Regions from separate parts of the Homo sapiens genome. Here region 1 is linked to region 2. The links are contacts of gene promoters, found by promoter capture Hi-C in human tissues and cell types (Jung and others, 2019). All regions are on one chromosome and are shown on one strand. Each heading gives the region's core, a stretch centred on a gene start or on the middle of the fragment in contact. The rest is flanking DNA. Distances are from core to core; before and after follow the strand shown.

Region 1 (2,700 bases), core at 179-2,678, 240 kb after region 2:
AAATTCCATCTCAAAAAAAATTGATTTTTGGCCAGGTGTGGTGGTGCATGCCTGTAATTCCAGCACTCTGGGAGGTCGAGGTGGGCGGATCACTTGAGGTCAGGAGTTTGAGACCAGCCTGACCAACACGGTGAAACCTCGTCTCTAAGAAAAATACAAAAATTAGCTGGGCATGGTGGCAGGCACCTGTAATCCCAGCTACTCAGGAGGCGAGGCAGGAGAATTGCTTGAACCTGGGAGGTGGAGGTTGCAGTGAGCCGAGATCACGCCACTGCACTCCAGCCTGGGCGCAGAGCAAGACTCCGTCTCAAAAAAAAAATTATTTTTGAGACAAGGTCTTACTCTGTCTCCCCAGACTGGCTCTGTCATAACTCACTGCAGCCTCAAACTCCTGGGCTCAAGGGATCCTCCCACCTTGGCCTCCCGAGTAGCTGGGATTAGGCATGCACCACTATGACTGGCTAATTTTTAATTTTTTTGTAGAGTCAGAGTCTCACTATTTTGCTGAGGCTGGTCAATCCTCCTGTCTCGGCCTCCCAAAGTGCTAGGATTACAGGTATGAGCCACTGCACCCAGCCCTTAATAAATCAATTGGTAGGACCAACTGGTCTACCCCTCTTGGCCAACTGGTCTACCCCTTCTGCCCAGGTTCAGAGATTGCTGAAGAAGCCAGAGAGCTGGTGCTCAGACCTTGCCATATTGAGGGTCTATACTCAGACCAGGATGGGGCTTAGTGAATCAGGGGCTGTGAAGTCTCACCCAGCACGTCCACTTCTCCCTGGATACAGCTGAGACACTGGGCCACCGACTCATCACTGCACACGTCCAGCTGGGCCACGGTGAGGGTCTGCCCCAGAGCCTCCCCAGCAGCTGCCTCCAGTGTCTCCTTCTTCCCCAGGTCCCTCATGGTGGCCACGACTGCGGGGCAGAGAGTAAAGCAGGGACAGGCACTGAGCTCCTTTCCCCTTGGTGTGGGCGCCACGTGTCTGTGATCTTGCGTTACAAGTCACAGAGAGATGGAAACTCACAAGTTTACACACCTACATTTATCACTCAGCCAACAAGTGCACACTTGTGTACACGCATCTCCACGTACCTATATCCATCCTTCCAACCATGAGTTCAACAGACATTTATTGAGCATCTACTATACACTATGCCCTATTCTAGGTGCTGAGGCTATGGCATGAAATAAGATAAAGTCACCAGGTGTGGTGGCTCAAGCCTGTAATCCCAGCACGTTGGGAAGCTGAGGTGGGAGGATTGCTTGACCCCAGGAGTTTGAGACCAGCCTGGGAAGTATAGCGAGATCCCATCTCTACAAAAAAATTATATTTTACAAATTTGCCAGGTGTGGTGGGTGGCCCCCACCTGTAGTCCTGGCTACTTGGGAGGCTGTGGTGGGAGGATTGCTTGAGCCCAGGAGGTTGAGGCTGCAGTGAGCCGAGATGGAGCCACTGCACTACCGTCTGGGTGAGAGAGTGAGACCCTGTCTCAAAAAATAAAAAATAAGGCCGGGCGGCCTGGCGCGGTGGCTCACGCCTGTAATCCCAGCACTTTGGGAGGCCGAGGTGGGCAGATCACGAGGTCAGGAGATCGAGACCATCCTGGCTAACATGGTGAAACCCCGTCTCTACTAAAAATACAAAAAAAAAAAAAAATTAGCCTGGCGTGGTGGCAGGCGCCTGTAGTCCCAGCTACTTGGGAGGCTGAGGCAGGAGAATGGCGTGAACCCGGGAGGCGGAGCTTGCAGTGAGCCGAGATAGCGCCACTGCACTCCAGCCTGGCAACAGAGCGAGACTGTCTCAAAATAAATAAATAAATAAATAAATAAATAAATAAATAAATAAGATAAAGTTTCTGCCTTCATGGAATTTATAGCCTAGTAGGTAAGACAATAAAATATATAAACATAAAACAGATTGCCATGAAAAAAATGCATACACAACTATAGCCAACATATGTGCATATATGAACACTGAAGTGAATAGCCATATATATATATATATTTTTTTTTTGAGACGAAGTTTCACTCTTGTTTGTTGCCCAGTCTGGAGTACAGGGGTGCAATCTCGGCTCACTGCAACCTCCACCTCCTGGGTTCAAGCAATTCCCCTGCCTCAGCCTCCCGAGTAGCTGGGATTACAGGGGTACAGGTGCCTGCCACCACACCTGGCTAATCTTTTGTATTTTTAGTAGAGACGGGGTTTCACCATATTGGTCAGCCTGGTCTCGAACCTCAGGTGATCTGCCCACCTCATCCTCCCAAAGTGCTGGGATTACAGGCGTGAGGAGCCAGAGAGCCACAGCACCTGGCCAAGCTTTTATGCCCTTTTTTTTTTTTTTGAGACGGAGTCTCGCTCTTGGTGCCCAGGCTGGAATACAGTGGTGAAATCTCAGCTCACTGCAACCTCTGTCTCCCGGTTCAAGCAATTCTCCTGCCTTAGCCTCTCAAGTAGCTGGGATTATAGGCACTGCCACCATGCCTGGCTAATTTTTGTATATTTATTTATTTATTTATTGAGACAGAGTCATGCTCTGTCGCTTAGGCTGGAGTGCAGTGGCATGATCTCGACTCACTGCAAGCTCCACCCCACAGGTTCACGCCATTCTTCTGCCTCAGCCTCCCGAATAGCTGGGACTACAGGCATCCACCACCACGCCTGGCTAATTTTTTGTATTTTTAGTAGAGACGGGGTT
Region 2 (2,756 bases), core at 48-2,547:
CCCCTACATTTTCTTTTCTTTCTTTTTTTTTTTTTTTTTTGAGACAGAGTGTTGCCCAGGATGGAGTGCAGTGGCGCGATCTCGGCTCACTGCAAGCTCCGCCTCCCGGGTTCACGCCATTCTCTTGCCTCAGCCTCCAGAGTACCTGGGACTACAGACGCCCGCCACCACGCCCGGCTAATTTTTTTTTGTATTTTTAGTAGAGACGGGGTTTCACCATGTTAGCCAGGATGGTCTCGATCTCCTGACCTCGTGATCCGCCCGCCTTGGCCTCCCAAAGTGCTGGGATTACAGGCGTGAGCCACTGCGCCCAGGGTGGCCCCTACATTTTCTTAGAGATGTTATGAACAGCAGGGTAACTAAAATGCAAACAGCCTCTTCCAGGCACCGAGGAATGGTTTAGTCTTTTTAGTGCTCTTATTTGCAAAAACCAGTTAACAAAGATTATCAACATTTCTATAGAACTTATTATGTGCCAGAATTAAGTCATTTATTCATCACAGCAACCTCCCGACCGCTGACAAAATAGGGACACTGAGGGACAAGAGGGGAAGGCAGGATTTGAACCTAATCAGTCGGGCTCCAGAATTCTGTCTCCCTAACCCTTAGATGATGTCACCTCTCAGGCTTCAATCTCACACAGCGCTACAGCAGGGGAAACTGTCATCATTCCCCTTTGACAGGTGGAGAAACGGAGGCTGTAGAAATACAGCACTTTCCCAAGGGTACAAGCCCAAAGTCATCGTGACTCCTGAAATCCCGCTCTTCATCCCTCTGCCACTCAGTTCACCATTACAGCCCTCGCTCACCTGGGCGCGGTGGCGAAAACATCGGGGTGCAGGTCGGCCAGGCCCACGCGCTCCTGCTCGAAGCCCCGCAAGGACTCGACCCAGGCCTGCACTGGGCGTCGATGAGTGGGTACCGGGAGCTCGACTTTGCGCAGCACGGGCTCCGGGAGACCTGGAGCGATTGCGGGGGTCAGAGGTTAGGGTCAAGGGTCAGACCTCTCTGTCGCCGCCCCTCCTGGAGCCACCCCGGTTGCCTTACCCTCGCTCGCCACCTGCTCCGGGTTCTCGGTCGCACGCGCTGCCTCTTCCGCCAGGGAACTCAGGCCCTGCAAGGGTTGGGCGAAAGTGAGAGACGACCCCTGGACACCCCCAAATTTCATCCTTCGACCACGCCTCCAGCCCCTGGCCTCACCTGGCTGCCGGTAGGCCGAAGCCAGGCCCGCGCCCCGGCCCGGACGAACTGCAGCATCGCCGCGCAGCCTCCCACGCCGCGGGAGGTCAAGGCCACTGGAGCCTCGCGAGGCGCCGCTGGATGACGTCACGCACGCGACGCCGCCCTACCCGCCGCGACTCCGCGCTGGAAAGCGGGGTGTGCAAAACCGAAGATGGAGGGGGTCCGACCCGGCGTGCCCAGACCTCCACCCCAGGACTAACCCCCAGACCCAATTTTCACTCCTGCCTCAAGGACCCTCCGTAACACTGGGGAACGCGACCTCACAGCAAGAAGACCCAGCTTCCGTAGGCCTAGCCTACTTTGGGTCCCGCCTCCGACGAGCCGGTGCAGGAATTCAGCCAATGAGACCTCTCTGGCCCAATTCAGCCAATGACTGTTAAGCCTGAAGGAGTGACCCCCGCCCATAAGTGGGCAGTTCTGGAGTGAGCAACTAAGGAATACAGCCAATAACGCTTAAACTTTTGCTGTTGGTCACGCCCACCGGGCCACGCCTTCATCCCGCCTCCAAGGCTGTCGGAGATGGTTTTTTCTTTATCCAGTTATGTGGTTTTGTTTTTTTATTTGTTTTTTTGTTTTTGTTTTTGTTTTTGTTTTTGTTTTTTTTGAGACGGAGTCTTGCTCTGTTGCCCAGGCTGGAGTGCAGTGGCGCGATCTCGGCTCACTGCAAGCTCCGCCTCCTGGGTTCACGCCATTCTCCTGCCTCAGCCTCCCGAGTAGCTGGGACTGCAGGCGCCCGCCACCACGCCTGGCTAATTTTTTGTATTTTTAGTAGAGACGGGTATCACCGCGTTAGCCAGGATGGTCTCGATCTCCTGACCTCGTGATCCTCCCGCCTCAGCCTTCCAAAGTGCTGGGATTACAGGCGTGAGCCACCGTGCCTGGCGTTTTTTCATTTGTTTAAAGGCAGGGCCTTATTGCCCTCAGAAAGCCTTCAGGATTGGGCCTGCCAGACCATGCCTCCCAGTTTAGATTCCCCAGGGCAGGGCCATGTCCCCCCGAAACCCCTCAGATTAGGTATTTGTGTCCCTTACCCCCTAGACCAGGGTCCTCTCCCCTACCCCCTTAAACCAGGTCCCGTCCCCTCTCAGACCTTCCAGGGCTCTCCAAGGACAGAACAAAGTGGGGAGTCCACAGATCCTGGAGTGCCTCCCTTGTCGCCCCCTAACAAATCCGAATGCTTATTTTTAGTTTCTTTGTTTTGGTTTTTAGAGACAAGGTCTTCCTCTGTCGCCCAGGCTGGAGTGCAATGGGCAAGATCATGGCTTACTGCAGCCTCGACCTCCAGAGCTCAAGGGATTCTCCTGCCTCTGTCTCCTGAGTAGCTGGTCTACAGGTACGCAAGCCCGGCTCATTTTTGTATTGTATTTTTTTATTTTGTATTTGTATTTTGAGATGGAGTATCGCTCTGTCGCCCAGGCCGGAGTGCAGTGGTGTGAGATCGCACATCTCGGCCTCCCGGGTTCAAGCGATTCCCTGCCTCAGCTTACCGAGTAGCTGGGACTACAGGCGCCCGC

What was found. The method cuts DNA at HindIII sites, captures the fragments that hold promoters and counts their contacts. A contact is called where the count stands out against the background at its distance.
Region 1: a fragment that was not itself captured here is called in contact with the fragment with the promoter of MRPL4 in region 2 in 1 of the 25 tissues and cell types used here (hippocampus).

The regions. Positions count from the first base shown.
Region 1 is chr19:10,015,275-10,017,974 of GRCh38, reverse strand. RDH8 (retinol dehydrogenase 8) reads right to left here. Exons shown (of 6, transcript NM_015725.4): 2 at 760-918. Among named protein-coding and RNA genes, the nearest start is that of RDH8, 3.1 kb to the right of the region's middle. RefSeq lists an enhancer at 1-213. The HindIII fragment of the contact is 3,864 bases long and covers 1-2,700 here.
Region 2 is chr19:10,250,755-10,253,510 of GRCh38, reverse strand. MRPL4 (mitochondrial ribosomal protein L4) reads right to left here and starts at 1,297. Exons shown (of 9, transcript NM_015956.3): 1 at 1,201-1,297; 2 at 1,048-1,114; 3 at 810-960. The coding sequence starts at 1,257. RefSeq lists enhancers at 795-1,368, 1,225-1,634, 1,765-1,914, 1,369-1,942. The HindIII fragment of the contact is 13,002 bases long and covers 1-2,756 here.